Regions from separate parts of the Homo sapiens genome. Here all the other regions are linked to region 1. The links are contacts of gene promoters, found by promoter capture Hi-C in human tissues and cell types (Jung and others, 2019). All regions are on one chromosome and are shown on one strand. Each heading gives the region's core, a stretch centred on a gene start or on the middle of the fragment in contact. The rest is flanking DNA. Distances are from core to core; before and after follow the strand shown. Region 1 holds the start of OCIAD2 (OCIA domain containing 2). Region 2 overlaps FRYL (FRY like transcription coactivator). Region 3 overlaps FRYL (FRY like transcription coactivator).

Region 1 (4,402 bases), core at 78-2,577:
AAAGAAGCCAGCCAAGACCCACCAAAATCAAGATGGTCATGAAAGTGACCTCTGGTCGTCCTCATTACTCATTAAATGCTAATTTTAATGCATTAGCCTGATAAAAGACCCTCCCACCAGGGCCATGACAGTTTACAAGTGCCATGGCAACGTCAGAAAGTTACCCTATATGGTCTAAAAAGTGAAGGAACCCTCAGTTCCGGGAATTGCCCACCCTTTTCCTGGAAAATTCATGAATAATCCACCCCTTGTTTAGCATAGAATCAAGAAATAACTACCAGTATAATTAGCTAAGCAGCCCACACAGCTGCTCTGCCAGTGGAGTAGCCATTCTTTTTTGTTGTTGTTCTTCTTGTTTTTTGTTTTTTTTTTGTTTTTTTTTTTTTTGAGACAGAGTCTGGCTCTGTCGCCCAAGCTGGAGTGCAGTGGCGCAATCTCGGCTCACTGCAACCTCTGCCTCCGGAGTTCAAGCGATTCTCCTGCCTCAGCCTCCCGAGTAGCTGGGATTACAGGCATAGAGCACCATGCCTGGCTAACTTTTCGTATTTTTAGTAGAGAGAGTGTTTCACCATGTTGGCCAGGCTGGTCTGAACTCCTGAGCTCAAGTGATCTGCCTGCCTTTGCCTCCCAAAGTGTTGGGATTATGGGCGTGAGCCACCGCACCCGGCCTGTTTTCTATACTTCCTTAATAAACTTGCTCTCACTCTACGGACTCACCCCGAATTCTTTCTTGCGAGAAGTCCAAGAACCCTCGCTTGGGGTCTGGATCGGGACCCCTCTCCGGTAACAAGTGATATCGGTATTAAAGGTACCCCCACATGTCAAAGGCTTCCCTCCACAAGTCAGAGTTGGGGAGGGACAGGAGGCAGCAGGGGACCGACAAAGAGCAATGGAAAGAGAAGGCCTGGGAGCCAAGCAGGCCTGGGGTTGACTCCAGGCTCCCTTAGTGGCCTGCACAACTCAGATGACCCGTCTGTGAAGTGCAGGTCACAGTGGGCACCACACACGGCTGCAGAAAGGAGTGCAAAGGTGATGCCCACGCCTGGCCTAGGGCGGGGGCGCAATACATGGCTGTTGCGGCTGTGATTGCTGGAGGAAGGGAGTCATTTGGAAGGCACAAAGGAACTAGAACCTACTCGGTGTCGGGACAAGCCTCAAGGATGGGGCAGGGGTTCCGGCAAGAGCTGGGTTCCAGCCTGGGTTGCCACCAACAGCGAAAGTGACTGCCAGGTGGCAGTAGGGTGACTTCACCAGCTTAAGTGCTTAGCGGGCAGGCGAGGGGGCGGAGCAAGAGAAGAAAACACAAAGGGCCGGAAGGAAGCCGGGGAGACAGGTGGGGTACTCGGGAAGCTGGAGCGGGCCGGCGGTGCAGTCACGGGGGAGCGAGGCCTGCTGGGCTTGGCAACGAGGGACTCGGCCTCGGAGGCGACCCAGACCACACAGGTGAGCCCCCGCCCCGGGGAGTGTTGACGGCGGGAGGGGGTGGCCTCGGGGGAACGCGGCGCCGCAGGGCAGTCCTTCGAAGGCCGCGCGGTGCAGCGGTGGCCGCCCCCCACTCTCCCCTAACTCGGACCCCGGCGGCCCCGGCACGGGCGAGGGGCTGGGGAGCTTGGGGTGGCGCTGGCTGCTTCTGGCCAGGGATGGCAGCGGACTCCAGTAGGCTGACTCCCGGCTTCCCCGACCGCATCAGAAAGTGCAGTGTCCCCCGTCCGCCGTCCAGCCCTGCAGGCGCCCCCCTCCAAGCCATCCTAAGAAGCACCCCCGCCCCCCATGCTGGGGCGCGCCCTCCTCCGCACATTCGTCGGTCAGCACCCACGAACCCACGGGTCCCTTCCCCACCACTGAGGAAACAGAGGGTCCCCGGACCACCCCAGCGTGGGGGGTGGGAGCTACACCTGCAAGGCAAGACCCTCGGAAGGCTTGCTTTTAGGTGCAGACTGAGGACTAAGTGGGTGCCAGGGGACCTGGCCACCGAAGCTGAGAGGTATATTTGCCTCCCAATATAGGGCAGCGGCCTAATGGCTAAGCAAAGATAATCTAATTTGGCGTGGTCAGCAAAGACTTCCTGGGAGTGCTCAGGAAATGGAAGGTGTGCAGGGGCTTTATGGACGTATCCCTCATCCTCATCCTCATCCTAGTCTTCATTCCTGCAAGAGCCCCTCACCATTGTTGTGTCCATTATGCCCAATTAACAGTGGAGAAAGCTGAGGCAGAGACGGATTAAGTCATTTGCACCAAAGGGATCGCAGGGGTAAAGAGTCACGATTTGAACTCTGGTCTCTCTGACCCCAGTACTTTCCCGTGCAGGGCACCGTGCTGCCCCTGTAATCACATTAGACACCTGTGATGAAACTTGGTGCGAGTACGGGTCCCCTTGGCTCAAATGCCTCAAAGTTTAGTAACTGATGTAGGAAACAGAATTGTATATAAGAGGTTCATTTTGCAGAAGAAAAGCAGAGGTAGAGGTAGAGTTCAGGGCTGCAGAATGCAGTGGCCACTGGGGGCAGGAGGAGGCTCAAAGTCCACCTGGATTATGTCCATCATTGCCAAATCCAGGGTCCACTTTTCTAAGCCATGTGATGGTGTTGATGATTCACTCCCTCCTTCAGAAATTCCCTCCCCTCTGTATCAGCTATTCCTTCTCAGTCATTTCCTTGGCCTGCTTTTTTTTTTTTAATCTTTCTTCTCTTTTCGATATTCCCTTGGGCTCAGTGTTCATATTCTCCAGTACTGTTTTTAGACACATTTATTAAAGTTCCCTGCTTTAACTCTCATCTCTATGATGGCAGCTCCCAACTTCATCTCTCTAGCCTACCCCTGTTCTGGAACTCTAGACCCAAATCGTCAAATATTAACAGTGGCTAATTCCACTGTTTGCCCCCACAGGCACCCAAATCCAACATTTCCAAACCCAAATTTAGCATCTCTATCAAAGATGCTAAATTCCCACCAGGGTCTTTGTTCACGTCCCTGTAACTCCTTGTCTGGACTAGTGTACCACCTTCCAACCTGGTCCTCCTGCCCCAGAGTCCATCTACCCTCCACAGATCCTCCTGAAAGCTTAGGAGTCCTAGTTCCTTTGTGACATGACTAGATGGAATGGACCCTGCTTTCTTTTCTTCCTTAGCATCCCATGCATACTTTTCATGTTGTGTAACTGTTGACTTGTCTATCTCCCCTTTTGGACTGTGAATTCCTTCACAGCGGTGATCTTGTCTTATCCTTCTTCATATCCCCTGGCCTGGCACATAATCGACACTCAGTGCACAGTGTGGTATTTCCACTCTATTCTAAATCTGATCTGTCCCCATTAGTGAGTGCATGTATGTGTGCTGGTGGAAGAGGAGCACTGGAAGTTGAGTTTGCAGATGGACTAATGACAAAAGGAAAAACACATTTTCCAAATAACTCCAGTGGATCCTCAGGATGCTTTTAAGCTTGATGCAAACATTTAGTCATGGCATAGTGATTCTCTTCTACCTTCCTTAGACACTGGGTCAAGGAGTAAGCAGAGGATAAACAACTGGAAGGAGAGCAAGCACAAAGTCATCATGGCTTCAGCGTCTGCTCGTGGAAACCAAGATAAAGATGCCCATTTTCCACCACCAAGCAAGCAGGTATACTTTTATATTTATTGATCGATTCATTGATTGAGACACGATCTCACACTGTCACCCAGACTGGAGTGCAGTGGTGCAGTCATGGCTCACTGCAGTCTCGAACTGCTGGATTAAGTGATCCTCCTACTTGAGCTTCTCACTTAACTGGGATGACAGGTGCAGGCCCACATGCCTGGCTAATTTTTTTTGTGGTTAGACATGAGGTCTCACTATATTGCCCAAGCTGGTCTCAAACACCTGGCCTCAATTAATCCTCCTATCTAGGCCTGCCAAAGTGCTGGGATTACAGGCGTGAGCCACCATGCCTGGTCAGGTATACTTTTAATTGCAGGACCTGCCATCTGAAAAAATATATATCATAGGATTTTTATTAAATTTCAACTTTAACCAGTCATCTTATTTTTTTCAGTCTGGCACTTTGTTGGATGGGCTTAGGGAAAATAGGATGGGGAAGGAAAGTGTGTTTTCAGCTGCTTTGAAAAGAAGCTGAAATTTAAAATTTAAAATTTAAAATTTTATTTACAAAACTCTTTCTTGGCTGGGCGCGGTGGCTCACGCCTGTAATCCCAGCACTTTGGGAGGCCGAGGCGGGTGGATCACGAGGTCAAGAGATCGAGACCATCCTGGCCAACATAGTGAAATCCCATCTCTACTAAAAATACAAAAAAATAGCCGGGCATGGTGGCTGGTGCCTGTAGTCCCAGCTACTCAGGAGGCTGAGGCAGGAGAATGGCATGAACCCAGGAGGCGGAGCTTGCAGTGAGCCGAGATCAGGCCGCTGC
Region 2 (3,982 bases), core at 546-3,045, 160 kb after region 1:
GCTTGATTGATTTGAAACATTCCTCAGTGATTTTTAATGAACTTATATCTTACCAGTAGTTCCAAATTTTCTTTTTGACATTGTACTTAATTCAGGACTCAAATTCAGGACTCATGGAAATCAGTTAACCACCATATATATTTTTTTTATTTACTCTAAGATACTGAGTACCTACATTGCACTAGACATCTTTAAATCAATCATCTTCTAAATGTCTCAATCTGTTTTCCTTCCTTTTCAATTTCATAGTCACTGTCCTATGACAGGCCTTTATAATTTCTCACCTAGATAATTATTGTCCTCTCTTAAGTCTTTCTTCCTTTAGTATCTGCCACTGTATATATCTTTCTTTTATTATTATTATTATTTAAGTTCTAGGGTACATGTGCACAACGTGCAGGTTTGTTACATATGTATACATGTGCCATGTTGGTGTGCTGCACCCATTAACTCGTCATTTACATTAGGTATATCTCCTAATGCTATCCTTCCCCACTCCCCCCACCCCACAACAGGCCCCGGTGTGTGATGTTCCCCACCCTGTGTCCAAGTGTTCTCATTGTTCAGTTCCCACCTATGAGTGAGAACATGCAGTGTTTGGTTTTTTGTCCTTGCGATAAGTTTGCTGAGAATGATGGTTTCCAGTTCATCCATGTCCCTACAAAGGACATGAACTCATCCTTTTTTATGGCTGCATAGTATTCCACGGTGTATATGTGCCACATTTTCTTAATCCAGTCTATCATTGATGGACATTTGGGTTGGTTCCACGTCTTTGCTATTGTGAATAGTGCTGCAATAAACATACGTGTGCATGTGTCTTTATAGCAGCATGATTTATAATCCTTTGGGTATATACCCAGTAATGGGATTGCTGGGTCAAATGGTATTTCTAGTTCTAGATCCTTGAGGAGTCGCCACACTGTCTTCCACAATAGTTGAGCTAGTTTACAGTCCCACCAACAGCCACTGTATATATCTTTCTAAAACTCAATTCTGATGATTTTGCTCCCCTGATTAAAAGCCCTCTTGGACTATCTATCCAAATTCCAGCCTAGCTTTTTGACCTTATTTCTTGCCAATCCCTATAAATGCACAATTTATTCTAGCTATACTGAATTTCTCAATGTAATCATAATTTACTGGGACATCTATTATCCTTTGCCGCCTTCTTTGTACACAGAAGCACTATTCATATTGTATTCTTTTTTTTAAAGTCTGTTTTTCATATTGAGTGCCTATCACTTAAGTTCACACTATATTATGGGTGGGAGATATTGAGGATTTCATAATAAACATTGTAATCTTTGCAAATAGCGCAAATATGGTAAATACAATAGAAACTTTTTGTGGTTTGAAATGATTCCTGTGATTTGACTAAGTATGGGAAGGATTTTTAAAACAGTTAAAGTTATCCCAAATGAAAGATTTTAGTTCTGTAGTTTGGTTTCACATGTCACTGTTAACTGAGACATTTCTCCTTAATGCAGTTTTTAGTTGATCTCTCAGATGTCACAGGATTTATTTAACTGCTTTGCTGCCTTTGATTTAAGAAAAAGAAAAAAAATCAGGCATATGCAACTATTTGTTGGTTTTCTCTGATTCCATTCTCTAACATTTCTTTGGGGTTCCCTGTGTAACTCAGTGACTTTGAAAGAGTAAATATTAATTTATGAAGTAGTTAACATTTTTTTCCTTGTCATTTATAATGCCTGTTAGTTTCACAGGCTGACTGGCTTTCTTTCCTTCTTTTCTTCCTCTCTCCTTCCCCTCCTTCAACAATATATAATAGCTTTATTAAGCTGTAATTCATATACCATAAAATTCACCTTTGCAAAGTATACAATCCAGTGGATTTTAGTATTTTTACAGAGTTGTGTAACTATCACCAATGTCTAATTTTAGACCATTTATATCACCCCCAAAAAGAAATTTCTTACCCATTAGCAATCACCCCCCTCCCCTACTAATTCGTACTATTTCTATATATTTGGTCACAGGCTTTCTTAACATTCTTAGTAAATACATTTACTGACCTATTAATTACAGAAATTCATCTAGATGCTCACATAGGTTGTGTTAGGGTTCTGCAGAGAAACAGAACCAAAAATGTGTATGTGTGCAGTGCACACACATGTACACATGTATATGGGGGTGGTGGGAAGACAGGGAAAGGGAGAGTTGTTAAATTGTTAAATTTTTAAAAATTGGCCCAAGTGATAGTGGAGGCTTGACAAGTCAAAAATCTGCGGGGTAGGCTGGAGACCCAGGGAAGAGTTGTAATTCAGTCAGCTAGCAGAATTCCCCCTTCTGAAAAGGTCAGTCTTTCTCCATCAGGGCCTTCAACTGATTGGATGAAACCCACCCTTTTGGAGAGTAATCTGCTTTACTCAGAGTCTACTGATTTAAGTGTTAATCTCATATAAAAAATATCTGGACAGAAACATCTAGAATAATGTTTGACCAAACATGTGGGTACCATGGACTAGCCAAGTTGACACATAAAATTAATCACACAAGTATTCACTGAGATGTTTAAAGGTAGAAAAGTAGAAAGAGCATTGAATTAGGGAACAGGAGAATTACTTTCTGGTCTTGGTATTACCAGTGAGAGCTTTATCCATGGGCAAACATTTCTGGGCTGTAAGTTTCCCTATCTGTTAAACAAGAGGTTCAACTTGATCAGGTTTCCTTTCTTGAATTATTATATGGAAGCTTGATATTTAAACAAAAAAGCTTGAAAAAACAAGCTAAGTCATCTCTAAGCCTCTTTGAACTTATTGAACCCCTGTAATTGTTATAGTTCTGATTCTGGATTTGTGATTTTTAGGTGTGACGTGGTTTTCTAGGAAAAGTAACACCTAGATAAGAATTTAGTGAAAGGCTTGTAAATTCAGTGTTCTTTCTACTTTTCTGCCTTTGATTACATAATAGATTAGCATTGCCCTAATTCAATTCTCTTTCTACTTTTCTACCTTTAAACATCTCAGATTGTCTGAGTGTGGTGGCTCACACCTGTAATCCCAGCACTTTGGGAGGCTGAGTCAGATGGATCACTTGAGGTCAGGAGTTCAAGACCAGCCTGATCGACGTGATGAAACTCTGTCTCTAGTAAAAAAAAAAAAAAAAAAAAAAAAATTATCCAGGCGTGGTGGCGCACACCTGTAATCCCAGCTACTTGGGAGGTTGAGGCAGGAGAATCACTTGACCCCAGGAAGTGGAGGTTGCAGTGAGCCAAGATTGTACCATTGCACTCCAGCCAAACTCTGTCTCAAAAAACAAAAAACAAAAAAACAACAAAAAATCTCAGATTACCCTCCAAAAGGGTGGGACAAGTAAAATCACTCTTGGCAAATTGAAATTTCTGTAAACAATTGGTATTATGTGTAGTTTTAATGATTGGAGTTTTTTGGGGGCTAGTGATGGTACCTGAGAGCACTTTATTTTGTTCAGGCATGAATAATGCCTGAATTGGATTGTGCTAGTGCATGACTAATACTAAGAATGAATAGCAGTCCTGAGTTGGTCTGTTACAGTAGGGAATAACTGACAATATCAATCTATTTTAAATACCATAAAGATGATATTCAGAGCTGTGAGACTGGATAAGTTGGAGTATAGATAGAAAAGAGGTCCAGAGACTGAGTCCTGTGGCATCCAACATGATGAAGTTGGGAGAGTAAGAACTAGGAATGAAGATTGAGAAGGACTGGCCAGTGGAGGAAAACTTACACAATGTGATGTCCTGGAAGCCAAATGAGGGAACAGTTTCAAGGTCAACAGCATTTTATGTGCTAATTGGTTAAGTAAAATGAAGACTCCAAATTGTGTTAAGTAAAACTTCATGCTACTAAAAATTAACGTCAGACTTTAAAAGGTGCACAACATATAAAGTAAAAAAAATTCTTTCTCATTGAAAAAAGACAACTTTTCAGAGTAGTTTCAGGTTCACAGCAAAATTGAGAGGAGGGTACAGAGACTT
Region 3 (4,063 bases), core at 552-3,051, 180 kb after region 1:
TTTACTCTTTGCTTTCCAGTTTTTGAGGTTATTATTGAGATATCTTCAATCTCAGATATATATATTTTTTGCTATGTCATCTGCTTTATTGATTAGAGCTCTTAGCATGTTAATCAGAGTTGTTTTCAGTTCCTGATCTGATAATTCCAATGTCTTGCCATATCTAAGTCTTGTTCCGATGCTTGCTCTGTCTTTTCAAACTACATTATTTGCCTTTTAGTATGCCTTGTGATCTTTTCTTTGTAGCTGGACATGATGTACTGTGTAAAAGGAGCTGTTTAATATAGGGTTTTATAATGTGGTGGCAAGGTGTGGAGGAAGGGGAGGTCTTCTATAGTCCTCTGATTAGATCTCAGTCTTTTAGTGAGTCTGTGCCTCTGGATTATCAGCTTCACAAGTGCTTCTCAGTACTCCCTTAGGTGGGACAGTATAGTTAAGAGTAGGCTAGAGTTGGGTATTTCCTGTCTGCCACATGGAAGGCTAGAACTGCCTAGAGTTAGGTATTTCTTTTCCTCCACATGGAAGGCTAAGGCTGACTGGGATTAGGTATTAACCTACCCCCAAGTTAGTTAGGGGTAGTTAGCAAGTTAGTCTCTGGCTAAATAGTTTCTCCTGAGGGCAAGCCTTGTTAAAAACAGAATGTTGTGGTGCATTTCAAAATGGTTGTTTTTCCTCTCTTTTGGAAGTAGGGGGGATTTTTCTGATATTCACTGTGAGAACTTAGGTCAAGCTCCTGGAGGTAAAAGTCAGAAAAAGTGCGATAGGCCCCTTCTGACTGGGTTCCCTGGAGTTTTTGACTCTCAGACTTTCTTACACTGATCCTCCAACAATTTGTCAATTACAGGTCAGGTTTTTCTTCCCTTGCACTGGTTCCCTCAACCTTCTGCTCATGGGTTTCTACTATGGTAAGTTGTGATTCTCTGTATCCTTCTGTATGTCCCTCCAATTTGGGGGGCAGTGGGGCAGTGGTTTGCCTTATGACCTCATTTCTTTTAAGGAGCTAAGATTAGTTGTTGTTGTTGTTTTTTCAATTTGTTCGCTTTTTACTTATTTTGGAGTGATGACTTCCAAGCTTCTTTCAGGTCAGATCAGAAACCAGACGTCTCTTCTTCCCATTTTTTTTTAAGTTGCTATACAGTATTCCTTTCTGGAGGCAAACAGTATTATAAGTTTTAGTGCATCCTTGCAGAGGTAGCCTGCTATTTAAAAATCTTTAAAAATTGAGATGAGATTACTGATTCCAAAGGCACATTCCATTAAAAAAACCTTTATTTCTGTAGTTATAATCCATTTCTCACTATTGATGTCATAGTTGTATGTTTTTCTGTCCATCTCTTAAACTACCTGCCCCTGTCAGATTTTCTTGATTTGCTGAATTTTGATAATTTTATTGGAATTTTCAAATAACTAATATACTAGTCAAGGTAGGTTAGCTTATGCTGCAATAAGAAAAGAATCCTCCAATTATCAGTCGCTTAAAACACAAAGATTATTATTTCTCACTCATATCAAGTTTGTACCTTTCAGGGAAAGTTGTCTTTCCTGTAAAGGCACTATGAGTCATCAATTACTGAGACAGCAGAAGAGAGAGGTTCAGAGCCCAACAATTAAATGCATCTGTGGAAGTTTTTTGTTTGTTTGTTTGTTTGTTTTGGAGATGGAGTCTCGCTCTGTCGCCCAGACTGGAGTGCTGTGGCATGATCTCGGCTCACTGCAACCTCTGCTTCCCGGGTTCAAGCAATTCTCATGCCTCAGCCTCACTAGTAGCTGGGATTACAGGCATACGCCACCATGCCTGGCTAATTTTTGTATTTTTAGTAGAGACAGGGTTTCACCATGTTGGCCAGGCTGGTCTCAAATTCCTGATCTCAAGTGATCCACCCACCTCGGCCTCCCAAAGTGCTGGGATTACAGGCATGAGCCACTGCACCCGCCCGCATCTGTGGAAATTTATAGGTCACTTCTCCTCACATTTCATTGACCAACAGAAGTCACATGACTGTGTCTAACTTCAACAGGGAAAAGGAAAGTAAAATTCTTCATTATGCCCAGAAGGAGAAGGGAAAATGGATAATGTTGTTAATGGCCTCTGTATCTTTATTTTTCTGATTACTTGCTTCGTGTTTTCTTGAAAGTGTCTTGTCATCTCTAACCCTGATTGCAGGTGCTGGTTTGGTAAGCCTGACCACCTCACCACCTACCCCCACAAAAAGAACTTATATCTTAGAAAAGCAAGTAGTTTTGCCTTTCACATCTTTGTTAAGAATTTCAAGGTCATTATCTCTGAAATTCTGAGAATTTCACCAGTCCTCTGTATTTGCCAATTCGTGTCATAAGATTGGTGATTTTTTTTCCTATATAGTAGTTTCCCCTTATCCTCAGTAGATGTGTTCCAAGACCCCAGTGGAAGCCTGAAACCTCAGATAGTGCCAAATCCTATGTATACTATGTTTTTTTCCCATACATACATACCTCTGATAAAGTTTAATTCCTAAATAAGGCGCAGTAAGAGATTAACAACAATAGTTAATAAGATAGAACAATTATAACAATATGCCAGCATCACTACTCTTGTGCTTTGGGACCATTGTTAAGTAAAATAAAGATTACTTGAACACAAGCACTGTGATACTGCGAGAGTGGATCTGATAACTGAGACTGCTCCTAAGTGACTAGCGGGTGGGTAGCATAGACAGTGTGGATGTGGACACACTGGACAAAGGGATAATTCATGTCCCGGGTGGGCAGGATGGAGCAGGACAGCGTGACATTTCATCACGCTACTGAGAATGATGTGCTATTTAAAACTTATGAATTGTTTATTTCTGAAATTTTCCATTTAATATTGTCGACTGAGGTTAACTGAAACCTTGAAAAATGAAACCTGGATAAGGGGATACGGTTGTACACTTTATTTAGTGTTGATAAATAGCACAGGCTGTATCAGAGCTTGACACGAGATTGTATTCTCTCTTTCTCTCAGAGGATAGACAGAGTCTGTTGAAGATTGCAGTTGGTATTTAGTGCAGAGAATTTGATGGAGGGGAGCAATTAAGTGTGGGCCATTTTCTTCTGGGCCTCACCTTAGTGGAGTAGACTGGCAGGCAGGCTCTTGGAGTGGATGGAGCACAGCAGATATGGCCGATGTAAGGGCAGATTGATTCTCTTTTGTCTCATGTCAAAATACCTTTGTGAAAATTCAGAAGTTTCAGATGAAGGGTGAGACCCCTTTCTAATTTCTGATGATGCTTGAATTTTCTCTTTTATATTGATTTAATCATCTTGAGGGATAATGGAACAGGGAGCTAAGTCAAATGTGTATTCTTAGGTTATCATCTGAATATTGCTTCTCCTTTTAAGCTTGTTTGGATAAAGTTTGATTCCAGTATTTAACAGGAATAAAAACAGTTTCAAATTTGTTATTTTTTGGAGACATTAGGTTCCATCTCAACATGGATGTAAAATAAGATATTCAAATATATTGGATTTATGTGCTGAAGGCAACAAGTTTCCCTCCCTTTCTCTATTATTCTACCCTACTCTAAAGTCCTCTAAAGGCAGCACGATGGAAATTTATGAAGTTGTTAATACGCATTTTATTGAATAAACTGTTTGAAAGTATGCATATTGGTGTTTTTCTTTGATTCTTGTCATTTATTATCAGGGGCACCGTTTGTTTAATCAACAAATGTTTATTGAGTTCCTGTGACCCAGGAGATGATGTTGGGGATTGTAAATATCCACAAGACAGCCCCCCCGCACCCAACTCCTGGAGCTTGCTTTTTAGTCGGGTAGACAAACAGTAAACAAATATTGGATGATAAACTCTATGATGAGAAATTAAGTTTGCTTAGAGAGTGATGGTGTCCGTTATTTTAGATAGGGTATGTGGGAAGTCCTCTTTGGAGGGTAGTATTTGCAATGATCTGAACAAAGGGAGGGAGCAAGCCATGCCCAGGGGAAAAGCTTTCCAGGCAGAGGGGTTAGCAAGCACACAGGCCCAACATGGAAATAGACTTGAGTTTGAGGGATAGCAGGAAAACTAGTGTGGCTGGAATAGGGG

Evidence for each region. The method cuts DNA at HindIII sites, captures the fragments that hold promoters and counts their contacts. A contact is called where the count stands out against the background at its distance.
Region 2: a contact is called between a fragment that was not itself captured here and the fragment with the promoter of OCIAD2 in region 1, in 2 of the 25 tissues and cell types used here (heart left ventricle and lymphoblastoid cells).
Region 3: a fragment that was not itself captured here is called in contact with the fragment with the promoter of OCIAD2 in region 1 in 2 of the 25 tissues and cell types used here (hippocampus and lymphoblastoid cells).

What each region holds. Positions count from the first base shown.
Region 1 is chr4:48,903,699-48,908,100 of GRCh38, reverse strand. OCIAD2 (OCIA domain containing 2) reads left to right here and starts at 1,327. Exons shown (of 7, transcript NM_001014446.3): 1 at 1,327-1,443; 2 at 3,490-3,617. The coding sequence starts at 3,552. RefSeq lists an enhancer at 1,020-1,099 and a silencer at 1,390-1,649. The HindIII fragment of the contact is 7,902 bases long and covers 1-3,249 here.
Region 2 is chr4:48,742,130-48,746,111 of GRCh38, reverse strand. All of the region lies in intron 1 of FRYL (FRY like transcription coactivator), which reads left to right. Among named protein-coding and RNA genes, the nearest start is that of FRYL, 36 kb to the left of the region's middle. The HindIII fragment of the contact is 6,767 bases long and covers 1-3,982 here.
Region 3 is chr4:48,724,273-48,728,335 of GRCh38, reverse strand. All of the region lies in intron 1 of FRYL (FRY like transcription coactivator), which reads left to right. Among named protein-coding and RNA genes, the nearest start is that of FRYL, 54 kb to the left of the region's middle. The HindIII fragment of the contact is 3,725 bases long and covers 1-3,663 here.